7 separate regions of the Homo sapiens genome follow, and all the other regions are linked to region 1. Evidence: promoter capture Hi-C in 16 types of primary human blood cells and fetal thymus (Javierre and others, 2016). All regions are on one chromosome and are shown on one strand. The core of a region is centred on a gene start or on the middle of the fragment in contact, and the rest is flanking DNA. Distances in the headings are between cores, read along the strand shown.

What was found. Contacts are between HindIII fragments. The CHiCAGO score rates a contact against its expected background, and 5 or more counts as called.
Region 2: a contact is called between a fragment that was not itself captured here and the fragment with the promoter of SRSF11 in region 1, in 4 of 17 cell types (naive CD8 T cells, non-activated CD4 T cells, total CD8 T cells and 1 more). The highest score is 12.4, in naive CD8 T cells.
Region 3: a contact is called between a fragment that was not itself captured here and the fragment with the promoter of SRSF11 in region 1, in 1 of 17 cell types (total B cells). The highest score is 5.6, in total B cells.
Region 4: a contact is called between a fragment that was not itself captured here and the fragment with the promoter of SRSF11 in region 1, in 6 of 17 cell types (total CD8 T cells, naive CD8 T cells, monocytes and 3 more). The highest score is 12.3, in total CD8 T cells.
Region 5: a fragment that was not itself captured here is called in contact with the fragment with the promoter of SRSF11 in region 1 in 4 of 17 cell types (total CD8 T cells, total CD4 T cells, naive CD8 T cells and 1 more); the score reaches 15.8 in total CD8 T cells.
Region 6: a contact is called between a fragment that was not itself captured here and the fragment with the promoter of SRSF11 in region 1, in 1 of 17 cell types (naive CD8 T cells). The highest score is 5.6, in naive CD8 T cells.
Region 7: a fragment that was not itself captured here is called in contact with the fragment with the promoter of SRSF11 in region 1 in 1 of 17 cell types (total B cells); the score reaches 9.4 in total B cells.

Annotation. Positions count from the first base shown.
Region 1 is chr1:70,219,956-70,222,977 of GRCh38, reverse strand. SRSF11 (serine and arginine rich splicing factor 11) reads right to left here and starts at 1,598. Exons shown (of 12, transcript NM_001350605.2): 1 at 1,139-1,598. The coding sequence starts at 1,341. RefSeq lists a silencer at 1,214-1,263 and an enhancer at 1,159-1,704. The HindIII fragment of the contact is 2,724 bases long and covers 1-2,552 here.
Region 2 is chr1:62,432,041-62,435,062 of GRCh38, reverse strand. No RefSeq gene overlaps it. Among named protein-coding and RNA genes, the nearest start is that of USP1, 3.5 kb to the left of the region's middle. The HindIII fragment of the contact is 3,951 bases long and covers 1-3,022 here.
Region 3 is chr1:77,984,363-77,987,384 of GRCh38, reverse strand. It overlaps a transcript of DNAJB4 not described here. Among named protein-coding and RNA genes, the nearest start is that of FUBP1, 6.8 kb to the right of the region's middle. The HindIII fragment of the contact is 598 bases long and covers 1,200-1,797 here.
Region 4 is chr1:77,964,292-77,967,313 of GRCh38, reverse strand. FUBP1 (far upstream element binding protein 1) reads left to right here. Exons shown (of 20, transcript NM_003902.5): 5 at 213-265; 6 at 359-430; 7 at 563-620; 8 at 2,083-2,245; 9 at 2,346-2,444; 10 at 2,567-2,668; 11 at 2,958-3,022. Among named protein-coding and RNA genes, the nearest start is that of FUBP1, 13 kb to the left of the region's middle. RefSeq lists a silencer at 1,496-1,698. The HindIII fragment of the contact is 936 bases long and covers 1,103-2,038 here.
Region 5 is chr1:77,944,656-77,947,677 of GRCh38, reverse strand. FUBP1 (far upstream element binding protein 1) reads left to right here. Exons shown (of 20, transcript NM_003902.5): 20 at 1-3,022. Among named protein-coding and RNA genes, the nearest start is that of FUBP1, 33 kb to the left of the region's middle. The HindIII fragment of the contact is 3,321 bases long and covers 1-3,022 here.
Region 6 is chr1:77,692,351-77,695,372 of GRCh38, reverse strand. No RefSeq gene overlaps it. Among named protein-coding and RNA genes, the nearest start is that of ZZZ3, 11 kb to the right of the region's middle. The HindIII fragment of the contact is 7,698 bases long and covers 1-3,022 here.
Region 7 is chr1:77,663,173-77,666,194 of GRCh38, reverse strand. All of the region lies in intron 1 of ZZZ3 (zinc finger ZZ-type containing 3), which reads left to right. Among named protein-coding and RNA genes, the nearest start is that of ZZZ3, 18 kb to the left of the region's middle. The HindIII fragment of the contact is 7,724 bases long and covers 1-3,022 here.

The sequences.
Region 1 (3,022 bases), core at 349-2,848:
CTCTCTCCACATGTACATTTCCCTAAAAATTAGAAACATACCAATTTGAAAACACCAATAATCTTGTGAAAGTATTTTAAGTGGAAAGTGATGAAATATGCTAATACTTAACAAATATCTCATTATGATAAACTTTTGTCAATTATTTTATTGAGCAGAAAGTTAATGGTTACACGTACCATAACAGTAGATTCTTAGAGGATTCCAATTTCCTGTTTAGTATTTAAGTGACATCATAAAATTCTCAATATATGATATTTACTGATAATGACATTTGAATTGTCACTTCTCCACCAATAAGTCTTCCAAAAAGCACAAGACTATTATTATTATTCCAATTGTCTGTTTTAGTAGTACACTTTATCTTACTTCTTAGCTTCTTTGAACTATTTTTTCTTTACAATTCATCCACTTAATATTCTTGCGATAGAAATAATTTTCAAAATAAAAGTGAGACAAAAAGGATAAAAAGTCATACACTCTAATTCAAATTTCAACATTTATAAAAATCCTTCTCAAGAACAACTGTGAAATATCACAAATCTGTATATTATTCAAACAAAGGAAAATCTCTGGTTTATAACCCGTTTTTTGACATTATACAAATTAAGTAATCAGGCTCACACTAAACTAAGCGTCTGTCAAAAAGAATATGATCTTTGAATTATATTGCTGGGCCAGAACCACATAACAGCAATAACAATAAGTGAACAACCTACAAAGTTTAACACCAAATTAACACAGGCATGAATAATTTTGTTACCTTTCTTCCAAGAACGCAAAGAACAAATACTCAGTTTTTTAAAAAAGGGATTTAACCTATATACGACGTACAGACTGCGGTTAGTCTTGCGTTAAGTCCCCAAAGCCAAACGACCACGTTGGCACAATTTAAGGCGGAAAAAAAAAATTTCCCGAGAATAACAGCCAGTGTTTCCTAATTCCAAAAAGCCCTGGCCCTGCCTCTCTGCATTTTTTTGTAGGCCTGGAACACAACCGTCTTAAGTAAATCCACCAGCCACCAGCCACTCAAGCAGCCTGGCCCGGGGAAGCAGCGACAGGGGCCTAAGGAAATTGTGTGTGTTAGGCCCAGGCTGAGGCGGCGTTAGCAGGAACAGTGATGGTGGACGATACTCACTCCGGCGGGAAGAGGCGCAGTTCGTCGATCTTGCCTAGGAAACCGAAGAGAGTCCGCATCTGCTCAGAGCTAGCGCTCGGGGAGACATTAGTCACCTGGATTACCTCGGTGCCGCCGCCTCCGCCGCCACCACCACCTCCGCCACCGGGCCCGCCGCTGGGGCCCGGACCTGCAGTGCTGGGGACGACGGTAGTGTTGCTCATGGCGCTGCTCGGGTTCTCGCTCCTGCTTTAACACATCAAACACACAACAAACAGTGAGAAGGAGGGGGAAGAGGAACCGGATTGCGGGAGAGAGGAGGGTGTCCGATGCTACAGCCTCTGCTACTGCTGCCGATGCCGCCGCCGCCGCCGCCGTTTCTCCGCCCCGCCGCACGCCGCGGGGGAGGGGATGAGAGCGCGCGAGCTCGAGACCACGAGAAAACAAACGGCCGCCCCACCTCGCCTCCAACCACGACACTAGCGGGCCCGAGCTCCCACAATGCTTTGCGGCGCAGGGCGCGTCAGCGTCGGCTCCACCCCGCGCAGGCCCAGCAGCCGTCGCCTGCAGCCCGAGAAATGAGAGGCACCGGGGTCTAGAGAAAGGTGTTATCCACCTTCGTCTCTCGTTTTATTCTTCTTTTTCTTCTCTCTTTTTTTTTTGGAAGAGCGAAGAGGCACGTATAAACTTTTTTTTTAAAAAAAGCATTCATCCTCCTGCAAAAGTCACTTCAGCAACTCTTCTTATTAAATACTGCTCACGATGTCTTTATATACTGATAATCATCTACAGAGCTATCCGATTACTAATGATATTTAAACCCAAGCTAAGATGCCACCCCACCACCACCAGTATAAAATGTCCCGAAATTTTCAATGTACATGAATTTTGGTAACATTAAATCTGTAACTAATTTGTTTTGTCACTAAAACTTTCAGAAAAGATATATTTTAATATTACACTTATTAATAAGCGTTTTGTACATTCATTCACAATGGATGACTTTTTTTTTTGAGACAGAGTCGCCCTGTCGCCCAGGCTGGAGTGCAGTGGCACCATCTTGGCTCGCTGCAACCTCCACTTCCCCTGTTCAAGCCATTCTCCTACCTAGGCCTCGGGAGTAGCTGGGATTACAGGCGCCTGCCACGACGCCAGGCTAAGTTTTGTATTTTTAGTAGACATGGGGTTTCACCATGTTGGCCAGGCTGGTCTCCAACTCCTGACCTCTGGTGATCCACCCGCCTTGGCCTCCCAAAGTTCTGGGATTACAGGCGCGTGAGCCACTGCACCCAGCCAATTCCACAATAGCTGACTTTGGAAACACAGTTTATAGTACTTAAATATATTCAAGTATATATTTCTAAAGAAAATACTGCAATTTCTCAAGAAAAACTTGTTTCACATACATATTCTTGCTTAAAATAATTTTGAAGCTTTTGACTATTAAAAAAATCCTTGCTTTTGTTTTCAACCTCATCTGAACTATTCTCTCAACTGCATCCAGTGTGTAGTCCAGTGACTTGTAGTGCCCCAAACATGACAAAAACCATAATGTCTCTGTGCCGATACACAAGTTATTAATAACATCACTCATCTTATCTGTCATCTTCTGTAGAGCATTCCTTCCCTCACTGCTATGACTTCTGCAAGCTGTTAGGGCTTCCTCTTTTCTGCTAAGTAACAGAAGATACATGTATTTATTATTGACATGTATCACTCAAAGTTGTGAGCTTCCTGGGTCAGTCCAGAACCTGGCACAATGTCTGTCACACAGTCAGTCCCAATGAATGTGCTGGACACACGCACAAATATACCTTAATGACAATGGCATTTAAGACAGTTCACTAAATAATTCACTTGACCTTGAATGTTTTTAGAGGTAAAAGTTTTAGATGTTTTGGAGGT
Region 2 (3,022 bases), core at 210-2,709, 7.8 Mb after region 1:
GATGCTGGTTCAATAAGCCAAGGAATAAATTATGGTAGTCTGGAATAAGATGGTGGGATGTTGAAAACTGGTAGGGTTCAAGATATATTTTGAGCACAGCCAACGAGCTCTACTGATGGATTGGCTGTATGATAATGTAAGAAAAAACAGGTCGGGTAGCCAGGGCCGGTGGACCGCTTGAACCCAGGAGTTCAAGATCAGCCTGGGCAACATGGCAAGACCCATCGCTACAAAAAACTCCAAAAATTGGCCGTGCGTGGTGGCACGTGCCTGTAGTCCCAGCCACTCGGGAGGATGAGGGAGGAGGATCCCCTGGCTGCAGTGAGCCGAGATGCACCACTGCACTCCAGCCTGGGCAACAGTGTGAGGCCCTGCCCTCCACCCTCCCACCCGAAAAAAGAAAAAAAAACAAAGAGTAACGATTTTTTTTTTAACCTGAGCAACTCAGTGTTGGTCCTTGCTAAAATGGGGGTCTTAGTAGGCTCAATGGGAAGGATCATCGTTCTTAGAATATTAAGATTGAGGTGTTTAACGTACAAACAGATGTTGAACCAGCAGATCACGAAATACACAAGGACAAGATTAGAAAATGTATATAGGTCAGTCTTAGCCATTGTGCACCACAGAGTGGCAGTGTCTCATTTTCTAGTACTAGCATAATTATTGCTACTTTCAAACTCTACGAGAACAGATAAGCAATTCTACTTTCCCATATTCCTGAGATCCTATTGTCTGCAGCCACTATTCTTCCTGTACACAATGTGTGGTATCAGTTAAGATTCATTTGCGGAAAATAGAATCCATTTTAGCTAGTATAAACACAAAGATATTGAATACTTGGGAGGGTTGATTAAATAGGCTCTAGATTAGTTTTTCAGGAATGAGTCCCAAAGTCTTCCCAGAACCAGGCCACCAAGGAAGCAATGACTCTTCTATGATCAGGAAATGACGTCTCTGAATCACACTGCTGCTGCCATGCCTAGGAAACCACCATCAGAAAGCTGCGTGCACCGCTGACCCTAGAACCACACTATACCCACTATGATCTGCACCAGTGCCATGCATATCCTACGTCCCGTCTGTCAAGGCCCACAGGACAAGTGGCTAGACACTGAGGTTTCTGCTAATGCTGCTTCAGAAAAATCAAACACCTCCACAACTGTGCTTGTCAACAGCAATAGCAGAAGTTTGGTGTGTCTCTGGCAATATGATTAATGTAAAAATTTAATATGCTTCTCATTCTTTTGCTTTCAGTCAGTTGTTTGTGGGAGAAATTCTAGCCACAGTTCTTGCCTAGATGAGTTTTTAAGCCCCGAAACTTTTTTCCCAGTTTCTGTGTGCTCCCCAGTTACCCCACTCTTAATGACAGCTAATCCCTTTGGAAACAATGGGATTTAATAGGTTCACAGCATTCTCAATCCTATATTTGTCAGTCTTGTGTGGGTAAATGCCAGGCATATTTCCTTCCAAAGTTTCACAGGCACTGTTTCTGTGTACAGTCATCCCTTGGTATCCATGGGGGATTGGTTCCAGGACCGTTATGGATATCAAAATCCGAGGATGCTCAAGTCCCATATATAAAATGGCATAGTATTTGCATACAACTTATGCACATCCCACCTATACTTTAAATCATCTCTAGATTACTTAATTACCTAATACAATGCCTACACATCATTCACATGGATTTAACATAGTATTTAACACTTGGCACGTGGCAAATTCAAGTTTTGCTTTTTGGAACTTTGTGTACCTTTTTCATAAGATTTTTTGATCTGTGGTTGGTTGAATCCATGTATATGGAACCCATGAATGTGGAGGGCCAACTGTACTTCAGTCTAAAGGTATAGAAGAAGTGTGGTTTTTTTCCGCCCTTTAAATCTTCAAATTATGAAACTTTTATTTTTATTTTTTTGAGATGGAGTCTTGCTCTGTCCCCCAGGCTGGAGTGCAATGGCATGATCTTGGCTCACTGCAACCTCCACCTCCTGGGTTCAAGCAATTCTCCTGCCTCAGCCTCCCAAGTAGCTGGGATTACTGGTGCCTGCCACGACGCCCAGCTAATTTTTGTATTTTTAATAGAGACGGGGTTTCACAGTGTTGGCCAGGCTAGTCTCGAACTCCTGACCTCGTGATCCGCCTCGGCCTCCCAAAGTGCTGAGATTACAGGCATGAACCACCACGTCCCGCCCAAATTATGAGACTTTTAATCCACTTGGATTACAGCAGAATTTCTCCTTTAGCAAAACTGTATTCTTTTCCATTTCTACATGCAAATTGGTTACTTCTGGCCTGAATTCATATCTCATAGAACTTGGTTTAAAGTGTCAAGAAAAAGCCAGCAAATACCAAGTTTATAGATATTTCCAGCCATTTCCCTTCGTGCCACAATTTTGATTGGCGTGTGATCTGTCTTCTAAAGCTGGCAACAGGTTTACCAAATGTCTGGCAACTGGAGAACAAAGGTCACCAGTTTTCCATCTTGCAGTATCTGAGTCTTTACCACCCACTGCCCAAATGCTTCCACTAAAAACCACATTTCTTTTAAGGTTATGTGTAGCACAAATTTATAGGAACCAAACTCTGCATCCGATAGGAATAGGTTTGTTTATAAGTAACAGAATATTTTTAAGTGTCCTTAGCTAAAATTAATATTCATGTCTTTATCATGTATACATAATGCAGAAGTAGGCAGTCTAGATTAGTATGGTGGTTCTGTGACCATCAGGGACCTAATTAATTTCTTCCATTCTCAACATGTGGCTTCTACCTTTCGGTCCTTTATAGCTGTTTAAATTCCAGCCATCATGTCTACAGTCCTATGCAGGAAAGAAAAAAGGACAGAGATGACCATGGTCCCCTCTCTTTAAGGATACTTCCTGGAAGCTGTACACACCATTCCTACTTATAGCCCATTGGCCAGAACTTAGTCATTTGACAACATTATTCTGGGTGGCTATATACCCAACTAAAAATCAGGGGTTATAATATTAAGGAAGAAGGATAGAATGGATATTAGAGG
Region 3 (3,022 bases), core at 249-2,748, 7.8 Mb before region 1:
GGCTGAGGCAGGGGGATCACTTGAGCCCAAGAGCTCAAGGCTGCAGTGAGCTAAGATTGCACCACTGCACTTCAGTTTGGGCGACAGAGATCCTGTCTCTTAAAAGAGAAAAATTTGGGAAGAGTGTAGGTGATATTTGAAACCATGAGACTAGAGGAAATTACTAGAATCATAGATAGGGTAAAAGGGCACAAGGATTGAGTCCTAGCACTCACAAATGCAGTAGTAAGAATAACTATTACTAGGAAAGTGGGGCCTCTCCCTCACCCCTGAGATGAATCCTAATTATTCTAAGCCAGTATGACACTTGATAGAGTAAGCCTGTGACTCAACTCTGGTCAGGACAAGGTTAATAAGATTGGCAGTTGTGGCAGGGGTGGAGGGTAGGGACACTGGTAGCAGAAACTTTCCCCTTCCATTTAACAATCATGACTGCATGACACCTGGAACTGTGGCAACCATTATGCAATCATTAGGGGAGTAAAGTCAAGAAGCTGAGGGTGGTAGAAGGCAAAGATGAAAAAAACATGGGTACCTCATAAATTGTTGAGCTGCTCATCAACCAGCCTTAGAGCCACTCTACCCCTGGATTTTTTATTATTTAAGCCATTTAATAAGGGTTTTCATTACTTGTGGTCAAAAGTATCTGGATACAATAATCTCATTTAATTTTCAAAACAATGCTTAGGGTGACAAGGAGTAAACAAACTCAAAAAAGGTTAAAGAATTTGGCAAGGTCACTGAAGTAGCAAATGGTGATTTGAAGTTCATCCGACTCCAAAGTCAATTTGAACTGATTAAGAGTTGTTGATTTAAAGAATGGACACAACTAAAAGACAAAGGGGAGTGGGAGTTGAGAATTACTGACGTGAATGGCAAAGAAGGAAAGCCAGCAAGTAAGAGATGGAAAGAAAAGAGAAGTGTCAAGAGACTAGAGGAACGGAAGAAGTACATTAGGAAACAAACTGACAAGAGGTCATCTTGAGGAGAATATCAGACTTGAAGATTTTTATTGTTTGAGTTGTCTGGATGAAGACTAGATGCAGGCTGTGGCCATAAGTAGTGAGGAAATTGCATTTCGAGTAGTTAAGGATTAATGTAGTAATATTTACTACATGGCACACATTATTTTATGCACTTAGGATTCAGTGGTATGTGATCTGAGATGAAGTTCCCGGGCTGTAACCTGGCCAGAAGCTTGAAGTCTTTACCCCAAGATATAAACAGAGCACAAGAATCAGGCTGACAATTGGGATGACAATGACTCACATTCACTAGCTTGTTTCAAATAATTTAACATACACTAGGAAATTAAATGTTTAATGAATGAATGATCTATCTGATCATTCAGCTTCTCCCATTCTGACTCTTCAAACCATTGCTTAATTAGCTACAGGATATTATTGGTTAGACTGATACAAATAATTGTCTGAAAACAATAGGGAGTCTCTGCAAAGTGATCCATGGTTTCAATCCACCTTCACTCACTAGCATGCTCAAGACAAGACGGTGAGATATATGTCTATTTTGTTTACTACTGTATCTCTAGCACTTAGAACAATGCCCAGAATTTTTGTTGAATTGAATAAATGAATAGATTAATTAGGACCTACTAGATGCCAGGCATTATTGTCATCTCAAAGGTAAATAAGATAGCTCCTGCCCTTGACCGTTTACCACTTAAAAGCTCTAACTAAAACCTCTCAATCTTCATTTATATCAAAGTGCATAGTTAAGGAGCAAGGTTGTTAAGAATCTAAAGGTAATATCTGTCCTGGATAAAAGGTGTCTAAAGCTTAATATGCACATAAATTTTTTAAAACTAACATTCTTGCTTGAAAAAATAGTATTTATATTATTGCTACAATTAGATAACCTGGCATAAACAATGATTATGATAAACCATAGAAAAATAGTACCTCCAGATATTTCTTATAAAAAAATTAATTCCTTTTTCTTAAGTACATGTCCCTTCAAATTTTTTTTAAATGAAGTGAGAATATCAGTTAATATGAAGCAACATAAAGGAACAAATGGAATCAGAAGGCAAATTCCAAAGAGATCACTACTATAAATAGAGACATGGAAATGTCAGAACAGAGAAGCAAGGTTCCACTAAAAAACAACAAAATTGTTATACCAAATGAGTTTTCTATCTTGTACCCACCCACTTCCAGTTAAGGATTTCACTGGCAAAGATCCTTGATCTTTCAATAACCTATTTTCAGAAGGAAATGTTGTCAGTAAATGTTGTCAGTAAAGGTAGACATCCTGATTACAAAAATTAAGATGTTTTTGGTTCTGTACAGATTCTTCTTCCTCTTGTACCTAAGAAGCAGAAAACCTCCAACCCAAACACCGATGCTTCATATAGAAGACAGTTCACAAAATAAAGAGCACTGGATTAGAAATCTAGTCTTGGCTCTGCAATTAATCTTGGCACTTTGTAGAAGGCACTCAGCAATCTGTGTTATGGTTTCCTCCAATATAAAATGAAACAAATGGGCGAGATTACCTTCAAGGTCTTTCCAAGACTGATATTCTAAGAAAAGTTTGTGTGAAACTACCCTTCAGTGCCATCTGGCCTCAAAGGCCCTCCACATTCATAATCATATGTAGCTTTGTAGGAAAATGATAAGTGGAATAAAGAATTCAACTTGATATTTATTAAACTTTTACCAACATAAAAGCATACTGGGCAAACCAAAGAATAAGACGCGGTCCTTGACAAGCCCTCTTTTATACAGAGGAGGGGAAAAGGGAGAAGACAAAATTTCTGTATTCATAACATTTACTACAATCTAGCCAGGGAAACAAAATTTAATTCACTTTAATTCCTCAAATATTAAATATGTTTTGTGTAAAAGGGTAGTTTTCAAATCTTGATGAGTAGAATCAACTATGATGCTTTCTGGAAAAAAAAAGAAAGAAAGAAAGAAAGAAATATAGATTCCCCAAAACATGATTCAGTAGGTCCACGTACGGCTAAAAAGCACTCTTGATGATGCTGGTGACCTTTTGT
Region 4 (3,022 bases), core at 321-2,820, 7.7 Mb before region 1:
ATCATCCCTTCTTCACTTGATGTGTCATCTTAAATTTCTTAATTTAACTACTCAAGTAATAAGATCATATTTTTTGACATGAGTCTGAGCCTAGAACCTTAGTTTAAGCCATTGGGAGACATTAGACTTCCATTTTTATTAATAGATTATCTTTTATTTGTAAACAAAGTATCTTTCATTGAAGGAAAATGGTGCTTTCTGTTATTTCTTAGCAGATCTGTAATGACAGAAGAATACAAAGTTCCAGATGGAATGGTTGGATTCAGTAAGTAACTTGATTTTTAAAGTTTTGAAAACATGATCAAAACATACTTTAGAATCTTTCAACCAAAAAAAAAATTTTTTTTTTTCTAACTAGTAATTGGCAGAGGAGGTGAACAGATCTCACGCATACAACAGGAATCTGGATGCAAAATACAGATAGCTCCTGGTAATGTTACATTCTCATGGTATTTTCAGTGTGACTAGAAAACTAGCTTTTTTTTTTTTTTAAGCCTTCTAGTAACAATAATGCTACTTTTAATCTTTTGACCTGAAGTTATCTGTTTGTTTTAAATTGTAGACAGTGGTGGCCTTCCAGAAAGGTCCTGTATGTTAACTGGAACACCTGAATCTGTCCAGTAAGTTTGAAAAATCTTAAAAATCTACTTAAGTAACAACAGCAGAACTCTTTGAATTTTGTCTCTTCTCTTTGTTACTGCTTTATTTTACACTGTGGTTTCGCTGCCACCTTCCCTCAAAGTCCTCCAACTCCTTTGAAGTTTATGCCTCATGCCTTTCTCAGGTGGGGTTCATCATCTGAATCATTAAACACAGAAAATGGTTAAAACAACTCCATATCTACTCCAGTCTCTACTTGTAAAGCCACGTGTAGCCTGGAGAAGAATGCACAGTCAGGTCGACTGGTGACACTTAAAACTCAGACATTAAGCTCAAGTGGACTGTTGTGTTGCCTGCATTTCCCTAGTTCCATTCACTTTTCCACTCCTCTCCCAGGCTCTTTAATACTGTATTTCCCCACCTCCAAATCTTCAGCATCTAACCCCACGCTCTCCCACTTAAGCTTATTTACTGAGAAAATGGAAGCAAATGATAAGAAGCTTTTCTTTTTCCCTACCACTAAACCTACCAGCCTTCATTTTTCCTCTGTTCACATAGTACTCAGGTAATTGCTTTCCTTTTGTGTTCGAGTGCCTAAAGCCAGCCCTTTCTTCCTACTGAAGGTTCAGCTTGCAGTTGTACTTTCTTCTGCATTGTTAGTTCTCCCTCATTACTAGGTTTTTTCTTTTCTTTTTTTTGAGACGAAGTCTCGCTCTGTTGCCAGGCTGGAGTGCAGGGGCACGATCTCGGCTCACTGCAACCTCCGCCTCCCGAGTAGCTGGGACTACCGGTGCATGCCACCACACCCAGCTAATTTTTGTATTTTTTTAGTAGAGACAGGGTTTCACCATGTTGGCCGGGATGGTCTCAATCTCTTGACCTCGTGATCCACCCACCTCGGCCTCCCAAAGTCCTGGGATTACAGGCGTGAGCCACTTCCCCCAGCCTGATTTTCTTTATGGCACTTTCCAAATAATGTGTTATTCATTTGACATGTTATTTTTACTTATTTAATGAAATGAAGCCACTCTAGCAGGAACCCTGTTTCTTTGAGTGCTATTACCCCATTACCTAGAATAGCACCTGCACATAGTTGATATTTAAATATTTGTTGAATGAATAATTGTAGCATATGAGTAAGCAAAATGGTAGTTTAAAAATGTAAATAAATCATTTAGTTCTTGGAAGAATCAGTTTAATTCTGAGATAACTTTAGCATTAGAGTTCTTTCTTGGAAATTTTGGACTATTCTTAAAAATAAAAATTGTATATCTAGAAAATTTTTTTGCATAATCTCTCAATCTTTGACCCTTGATGGCATTTTCTTTCAGTTAAAAGTAAAAGCATTGTTAAAGTTAGCATCAAGGCACCTAATCCTGAACTGGGATAGGAGGAGTACTTGGTTATATTGTTTTATATTTCTCTATTTGAATAAGCTTGGGTATGCTACAGCTTACTATTTAAATATTAATTTGTTAACAGGTCAGCAAAACGGTTACTGGACCAGATTGTTGAAAAAGGAAGACCAGCTCCTGGCTTCCATCATGGCGATGGACCGGGAAATGCAGTTCAAGAAATCATGATTCCAGCTAGCAAGGCAGGATTAGTCATTGGAAAAGGGGGAGAAACTATTAAACAGCTTCAGGTATTGTTATTTTTGTGAAATGGCTACTTTTGATCTGTTTTGATGCCCATTTTTGTCCACTTCCTTTTGTTAATATATATTATTTCTATGATTGTAACAGGAACGGGCTGGAGTTAAAATGGTTATGATTCAAGACGGGCCGCAGAACACTGGTGCTGACAAACCTCTTAGGATTACAGGAGACCCATATAAAGTTCAAGTAAACTTAACTTTATACTTTATAAAGAAAGAGTGGGTTGAATGGGGTTGGGCAAAATATGCATGAATAATTAAAATGTTTTGAGACATGCTTTCTAAATTAGCTAACTTTTTCTGCTTTAGCAAGCCAAGGAAATGGTGTTAGAGTTAATTCGTGATCAAGGCGGTTTCAGAGAAGTTCGGAATGAGTATGGGTCAAGAATAGGAGGAAATGAAGGGATAGATGTAAGTAAAAATACCCATTCAGAAATGGTTGTATGCTAATTCATAAATATAATAGTGTTTTCTGTTTTGTGTTAAGTAGCTCTAACATTGTTATCCTTTTATTTCACCTTTATACTTTAGAATACAGAATTCTATATATCTTGTTACCCTATTTACTATAAATATAGAATTATATGTACTTTTATGATTTGAGGCAGATTTTCAGGAAATGGCGCTTTTTTAAAATACTTTTTTTTACTTTAAACCCTGAGAAGCTAGCTTTCTTAATACTTAGTCTTTTTTACATAAGGTCCCCATTCCAAGATTTGCTGTTGGCATTGTAATAGGAAGAAATGGAGAGATGATCAAAAAAAT
Region 5 (3,022 bases), core at 328-2,827, 7.7 Mb before region 1:
CATGCTGAAGTTCTGATATTTTGTTGAAATCCATTGTTTTACTCTTTGCATATTTGTTGGCTCTTTGCATATTAATATATTAGACTACATGCAAATACAGTCTGTCTTGCCATTGTCTGTTGAAGTGCAGGTTTGATCCAGCCAGTATAGAACTAGCTCTGTAGGGGTGAGGAGGACTGTGCTGTGTATCATCCTTGATTGTGTTCCTTCAAGGAGCATTGCACTGTAAGTACATCAGAATGACAAATTGATGAACTGCAACAGTATCTTTTTGTCAATGTTCCACATAATGCAAATGCCATACGTTGTGTGAATATTATGTTGGAATACAGTGCTGATATCTTGGAAAACCATAACTGCCTCTTAATTTAACATAGAATAATACATAGTTCTGTATTTTTTTTAAAGTGAGCTTAATGGGTAAGTATTTTTTATATGCTTTAGCTATAGCTAAAGAAAACTGATACTTAACAAAGTTGAATAGTATTATTCACTGGTGCTCCTAAAATATTGTTTTTCAGTGTAAAATATGCATATCTTCTATATTTAATATGAAAGTCTTGAAATGTATCAGACAGAAGGGGATTTCAGTTTGCAAATAATGAGCAATGTAGCAATTTTAACACATTTCATAAATATATATTTTGTCATTGGTGGAGAGCACCATTTGTTGTTTTGAATATACTTTAAAGGAAGAGGTACAAGGACATAAATGTTGAGATTACCTACAGGATGGAAATAGCAGTACAGTTCATTGTAGATATTTTGAAATGTTTTTGATTGTTTTATATAACCTAGAGTGACTTCCCTTACCCTTATTTAGATCTGCATATATAGTTCTAGTATGAAGTTTAATAGTTAAGGAGTTAGCTATTTGTTATCTTTAAGAGTAGGGTATTGACGTGAACAATTGCAGTATTTTGCATGATACTGTTTTATAGATGACCTTTTAGGAAAGTGGTGCATTTATTAATTGAACTGAAGAAGTAGTTCAGTTGAATTCAGTATCATAATTCACAAATTGGAGGCTGTTGATTTTGATTCATTTAAGGTTTAAAATCTTTATTAATTGCAAACAGTGCAATTATTTATACTTCACAGTGCCTTCCCAGACCTTCCACCTTAGGTTCTGCTGCAAAAAGCACCAGGTAAGCACAACCTAAGGACATATATAAATAAATATTTCAATACATTAATGTTGTCCCTGTGAGGTTTTTGTGGTTGTGTATTCAAAGGCAATCTGCTACTGCTTCCCCAAAATGTATTTTGTTATTTTATGCTACCATCTTAGTGGAAAGTCTGTAAGTTGTTAAAGCAACTGTTTACATTTCTGGGTAATGTTTTTTATTTTACTTTTTTTTTTTTATTAAGACAAGAAAATGATGAGTAGATTGCTGCAGTAATTGAACTACATCCAAATCTTTTTGTATTTTTTCCCCAAATATAGAAGTGTTAATATTAAGAAAGGACAATTACACAGTTTTCAAGATTTAGGAAATCACTTGTTTAGAAACTTCAACAGCCTTCACAATCTGTTTTATATGATGGACAGAAAATTTCTTTGCCCTCCAAAATTATAATTTCTTTATTTTTTTCTTATTCTTAAACTATAATAATTCAGTAAGGATATTATGGGTTAGAATTTTATTATGATTTTTTTCTTAGACAAAAGTTATATGCTGAAGAAGGAAAAAGTTATAAGGCAGTATGTTTTGATAAAAGGCATGTGCATCAGTGAAATGTTAACTGTATAGCAAATAACCTTTCATAATCTGTAGCAATCAGTATTTTTCTGATTTAATAATATTTTAATAACTGACGCTGCATTTAATTTTTTTGCCAGTTTAAAATGTTTGTGTGTTTTTATAGATGATTTTAACTGGTACATATTTTGAGTTAAGTTGAATGTATGAAAGCAGCATCTTATCAGTTTTGTTTATTCGATTTCTAAAATGTGCTGATCCTTTTAAAACTCCTGCTTATCTCTGCAACAAAGAAAAATATTCAAAAATACTGCCTTCATTTTCACACACAGTGCTGAAGATGCTGCAAGCACCAAATCATAGCTCATAAAATCAGGTCCTGAGATAGTTACCCATAAAGAGGAATCCTTTGAGTGTATGCCATTGGTGAGCCGATGAGCATGGACCATAGAAGGGCTCAATGTAGAAGGTAAAATTGGCAAATCATAATTGAGAAATATGAAATGTATTCCCATACATAATATGGTATAGGGTGTAATGTACCTGCTTTTGATCACTTTTCATTTTAAAGTGCTATTCACTTGATCTTAAATGTTCCATGAACTGTTAAATTTCTTAAGTTACATAGTTACTACACCACATTTATGTGTATGTTATGTTTTAATAGTCAATGATAGGTATGTACAATTGATAATATAAAGGGGCTCATTGAAACTTGAGAGCCTGTTGAGTTTTGGTTAGTTGTAGATTGCATTTTTATAAAAAAAAATACAGATAGATTGATGATAATAGATATTGGGGCATTGTTTCTGTCTCATGAGAATTCTTTTATTCATTACCATAAGCCTTCACTGATACTATAAGCATTATTTTAAATGACGCTGATCTTAAGTCTGAAATAAATGGAAAGCAGAAAAGGTGAGCCAGTTGATTTGAATGCATTGGATATTAGTGTTAGAAACAATGTATAGTTTAGATTGAAACTGAACTGACTTATTTAGCACTTAAACAAAAATTTGACAATGTTTTTAGTTTTTTTTAAGACAGCTTAGTGTGGTGATACTTAGAATTCTATGGTTTGATGTTTCTTTTAGAAATGAGAAGTATAGTTTTATTTTTTAATATAAAAAATGGTTTTAATACTAAAACTAGTAATTTGATACTAGTTGTTTATAAACATTGTAAAATATATCTTTTAAACAAATTATCTTGGTAGTTAATTCATAAGGGTGGGTTTGGGTAGGAATAGCAGAGTACTTTCAGAGGGAAAGGGGAGTCATTCAGAAGTGATAGCATTTTATTTGTTTGAATACTCTGCC
Region 6 (3,022 bases), core at 134-2,633, 7.5 Mb before region 1:
ATTCAGTCTAGTAAAGTTGGTTTTTATTTATTATTTTATTTTTTTTTTAGACAGGGTCTCTCGAGCTCTGTCACCCAGACTGGAGTGCCTGGCGTTGAATACAGCTCACTGCAGTCTCCATCTCCTGGGATCAAGCGATCCTCCCACCTCAGCCTCCTGAGTACCTGAGACCACAGGTGTGCACCACCACACCTGGATAATTTGTTTTATTTTTTGTAAAGTCTGACTTTATTGCTTGGGCTGGTAATCAGTGTAGTAAAATTTTGATGTTTAATGAAATGAATTTTAATAAGCAGCCATTTAAGATCTATTTGAAGTTTTAAAAAATATATAGTAAAATATGATTCTACTATAGTAAAATATGATCTTCCTCAAGGTCTGAATGTTACTGATTTTTTGTGAATCACCAGAATTTAGTGTATTGTCTAGTATTTAGTGGTTAGTCAAAAAAGATTTGATTTTAATGATTGTTATTTATTGAAACTTAGAATGTTTCAGTCATTTTACTAAAGTTATTTCCTTATATTTAATCCTCCTAACAACTCTATGATATAGGTTAAATGGTTTGCCCAAAGTCATACAGCAAAGAAGTGGCAGATACAGGACTCCAACTCATGGCTTTATATAATAAAGAGCCTATTTTAAATTGAGACTAGTAGTCAGAAAATTATTTACCATAATGTAATCCCCAATGAATTCCTTTGAAACTGGTTGTGGTATCAGTCATATCAGTAGTGTCTGTTATTGGGATATATAATAAGATAAAGATACTGGTCCCTAAGAGCTTATATATATATATATATATATATATTTTTTTTTAATAGTTTTTTCGAGACAGGGTCTCACTCTGTCGCTCAGGCTGGAGTGCAGTGGTGCAATCTCAGCTCACATGCGACCTCGACCTCCTGGGCTCAAGCAATTCTCCCACCTCAGCATCCTGAGTAGCTGGAACTACAAGAATATGCCACCACACCCAGCTAATTCTTGTATTTTTTGTAGAGGCAGCATTTTGCCATGTCACCCAGGCTGGTTTCGATCTCCTGAACTCAAGCAATCCACCCGCCTTGGCCTCCCAAAGTGTTGGGATTACAGGCGTGAACCACCATGACCGGCCAATTTTTTTTACATTATAATTGTCAAAATACATAATATGTTCAGTAAAGGTCTAGCAATACCATAGACTCATAGCTAAAAATTGATCTATGTGTTGACAGATGTGGGATAAAATAAATAGTTTCTCTAAGGATGATTTTCCTGGAAATAAGCTGAGAATTAGGAAAATTGCAATCAAAGGCTAGTGAGAGCCTATATGTGTTAAGAGTCTATTGATTTATAGGCCAGGTGTGGTGGCTCATGCCTGTAATCCCAGCAGTTTGGGAGGCCAAGGTGGGTGGATCACTTGAGGTCAGGAGTTTGAGACCAGCCTGACCAACATGGTGAAACCCCATCTCTACTAAAAATACAAAATTAGCTGGCGTGGTGGCATGCGCCTGTAATCCCAGCTACTTGGGAGGCTGAGGCAGGAGAATTGCTTGAACCCGGGAGGCAGAGGTTGCAGTGAGCCAAGATCGTGCCACTGCACTCCAGCCTGGGCAACAAGAGCAAAACTCCATCTAAAAAAAAAAAGAAAAAAGAGTCTTGATTTATAATATGAAGGTGATTACTTTTGAGGCCCTGAAGTCCATTTGTTTAAATTCAAGTCCTAGTAGCTATATTAACTATGATTTGGAACAATATTTAAAGTTCTCTGATTTCCAGTTTTCTTCATTTGCTAAATGAGAATGTTGTAGTTTGGGCTTTCCAGGAAGCAGACACTGAGATAGTGTTAATGCATGCATATGATTTGTTGGGGAATAACACAGATGAAAGAAATGAGAGAAACAGGATTGAGCAGGAGGAGTAACCAGAATGATGCAGACCTGACAAATTCTCTGCCAGGTCTCCATAAGGCAATATGGAGCTAAGATTACCCATTGGAGGAGCCCTGCATTGGGCAGAAATGACTAGGTCCTTGTACTGTCACTAGGCCTTGTTCTGTCACTGACTAGTGGCTACCTGGAAAGGAGAATACACTCAGCTTGACCCTGATGGAGCTAACAGAGGTTGTTACCCAACCCTCTTCCTCTCAGCTGCGCAGCAAGTGCTTTCTGGAAGAGGGGTCTGAACAGCAATCTTCATGGCTGCCACACTTAATCATAGGATTATGATAATTATGTGTATTATATATAATATATACAACATAATTGGCACTCGGTGATGTAATTCATCATTCTCTTTCTCCTTTTCAAAATGTGTAATTTCTTTTTTTTTTTTTTTTGAGATGGAGTCTCTCTGTCGCCCATGCTGGAGTGCAGTGGCGTGATCTCTGCTAACTGCAACCTCTGCTTCTCAGGTTCAGGCAATTCTCCTGCCTCAGCTTCCCGAGTAGCTGGGACTACAGGTGCACGCCACCATGCCTGGCTAATTTTTGTATTTTTAGTAGAGACGGGGTTTCACCATGTTGGTTAGGCTGGTCTCAAACTCCTGACCTCAAGTGATCCACCCGCCTCAGCCTCCCAAAGTGCTGGGATTACAGGCGTGAGCCACCACGTGCTAGGCCCAAAATGTGTAATTTCTAAGGATGCAACATTATTTATGTAAGAGTCCTGTCAAAAATGTTGAATCTGAATCTATGAAGAGAAGAGAAGCAAGATAACTTTTTATATTTAAATTTCAATAGTTTTGGGGTACAGGTGGTTTTTGGTTACATGGATAAGTTCTTTAGCAGTGATTTCTGAGATTTTGGTGCACTAGTCACTCGAGCGGTGTACATTTTACCTAAATGTAGTCTTGTATCCGTCAGTCCCTCCCAAACTTACATCCCAGTTCCGAAAGTCCATATCATTCTTATGCCATTGCATCCTTATAGCTTAGCTTCCACTTATAAGTGAGAACATATGACATTTGGTTTTCCATTCCTGAGTTACTTCACTTAGAATACCAGTTCCATCCAGGTTGCTGCAAAAGACATTATTTCATTCCT
Region 7 (3,022 bases), core at 252-2,751, 7.4 Mb before region 1:
TTGCAGTGTGAATATTAGCTATTACCACTGCTACTGCTGCTTAACTTAATTACATTCCGTATATACGTTTGATATACTGTTTTAGTTTTAAGCACTATTCCTTGTGGAGTAAATTTCAACAAGTAGGATTTTCCCAAATACTTTATTTATTTTTGAGATGGAGTCTCGCTGTCTCTCCCAGGCTGGAGTGTACTGGCGCAATCTCGGCTCACGGCACCCTCCGCCTTCTGGGTTCAAGCGATTCTCCTGCCTCAGCCTCTTGAGTAGCGGAGATTACAGGCGTGTGCCACCACGCCTGGCTGATTTTTTTATCTTAGTGGAGACTGGGTTTTGCCATGTTGGCCAGGCTGGTCTTGAACTCTGACGTCAGGTGATCCGCCCGCCTCGGCCTCCCAAAGTGCTGGGATTACAGGTATGAGCCACCACACCTGGCTTCCCAAATACTTTAAAACTTTAAAATTTTATATTTTCTCTAGCTTTATTGAGTTATAATTGGTAAATATAAAAATTTTAAATTTAATGAATGAGACAGTGAATCACAAATTTTCTTAAACATTCCAGTATTCTTATTAACCAAGCTAAATATTCATACACTTTTAAACTTAAAATCATAAGCGTGAAGTCAGTTACTATTTTAAATTTAGAAACTATCATTGTCTATAGGAACTTAAAAATATTTAGGATAGTTTTAAACCACACAGTATTAGTATCATGAGTTTGATATACGTAATTTCAATATTCTAATTAATCATGGACGTTGGGCAGTCACTTACCTTCGGGAACAGTTTTGCTGTCTTCAGCAAGTTGAGATTCCTGTGACATACTTTATGTCCACAGTTCAGTTACCATCTCTTGACAGGCTGTTTATCAGCTTGACATTGGCCTTGGAAGCTGTCTTTGTCTAGGTGGTTTTTCTCATGTCACAGATGGACATAATGAACTGTCAGTAAAAATTGTCTGTATGGTAACAGTGGAACTCTAAGTTGATGTTGGTTTCTTCTGAATTGAAGTTTAAGACCTTTTGTAATTGTTTTGTAATTGCTTTTTAACTCTATTGCCAGATCAAGTTTTGTAAACCTCACCCAGATTATTTCACCACTTGATTGGATTCCAGGAATCCATTTTCTGTCTGGCTGATAGCACAGGTTTTAGATCATTTAAAGACATTAAGGAACTGAGAGGTATTGATAGCTTTTGTTAATTTGTTGTAACAAAAAGTATGCCAGAAGACTAGAAACAGCATAAGGTCTTATTTTTAAAAAGGAAACCAGTAGTTTTGGAGATTGTTTTCCTAGGTATGCCTTGGAGAAGAGGCAGAGAAGTACAGGCTTAGCTCATCAGCATTAAGAACATTTCATTAATAGTGTAAAATAAACTTTCTTAAATACTGTTAGAAGGAATTAATGTCAGACTTTGAGAGAAGTATCTAAAAAGGTACTTTTTGTTGTCCATTTTTAATATTTTCATTAATGTTTTGAATAAATGTACAGTTGTGCTTATAAAATGTCAGAACAATTTAGCTGGCAAGGATAACTAAAACAACTTGTAAGTTCTGTCTGAAACTACAGGCAGAAACCTATAGTGTGAGCTGCTTAAAAGTGTGGAATTAAAAAAATATGGAATTCAGATAGAAAAAATTACATGAGTAAAATTTTGTTCAATTAATGTTAAGGCACTGTATGTACTAAGAGAATAAAAAATGTATTGCTCTATTCCTTCGAGGAGCCTATAATTGAATGGGGAATATAGATATATCAAACTATACATTGTAATTTTATGATAGGATTATTAAGCATTATGGGAGCAAAGGAGAGAGTAGTTAATTCTGATGGATCATTGAATTGGCCTTTGAGGAATAAGAGTTTTCTAGGAATTGAAGAGGGGAGAAAGTCATCTCCTTTCTTTCCCTCCCCATTCTTCTTTAAGGTACTGAAAAATCAGATTCAGGACAGTGTTTATTAAGACAGATATATTTGTGGGCAAATAAAGAGTAAATTGGAATGAGAGATTAATTAGGCTACTACAGTTGTTTAAATAGAATGATGATGGCCTGAGCTGGAGCAATAACAATAGAACAGAAAGAGTAGATAGTTTGTTTTTTTTTTTTTCCAAGACATTTTGGTGATAGAATAAGTAGGGTTTATTAGCCGGGTGCCATGGCTCACACCTGTAATCCCAACATTTTGGGAGGCTGAGGCGGGCGGATCACCTGAGGTCAGGAATTCGAGACCAGCCTGACCAATATGATGAAACCCCGTCTCTACTAAAAATGCAAAAATTAGCCAGGCGTGGTGGCACGCACCTGTAATCCCAGCTACTCAGGAGGCTAAGGCAGGAGAATCGCTTGAACCCGGGAGGTGGAGGGTTGCGGTGAGCCAAGATCGCGCCATTGCACTCCAGCCTGGGCAACAAAAGCGAAACTCCGTCTCAAAAAAAAAAAAATAGGGTTTACTGATTGTATATTATTAGGAGTTTAGTTTTATATAGTCTCAGACATCCAACTGGTGAGTTGCTTAAAAAAGAAAAAACAAATGAAGTACCAGGCTGCAGTAATAGGATTTTGTCCATAATAAGGGATATGATATTCATTCCATGTTGGTTAGGACACATTTACAATGTTGGCCTTATTTCTGAAAGCTACACTTTAAGAAAAGTAAATGAAAAGATAGATATGTCAAGAGGAGGGTAACCCATGAGAACCTTTGAAGGAATTGAGAGTGCTTATTGTGGAGAAGGAAGACTTGACAGGAATGAGTGAAGGAGGGAAGGGGACAGTTGTTTTCAGGTAATGCAGGGCTGTAATGAGTTGTTCTACAGGGTAGAATTAGATCCAGGATACCACCAGACTTTTTTTTTCTGAGAACTAAGATATTCTCTTAACTGCAGTTACAGTGATCAAAATTAGGAAACTTAACATTAATACCATTATCTAATTTACAGTCCACAATCAAATTTTTTCAATTATCCTAATAATTATTTTTATAGCTTTTTAAAATCGAAGATCATACATTGCATTTGATTT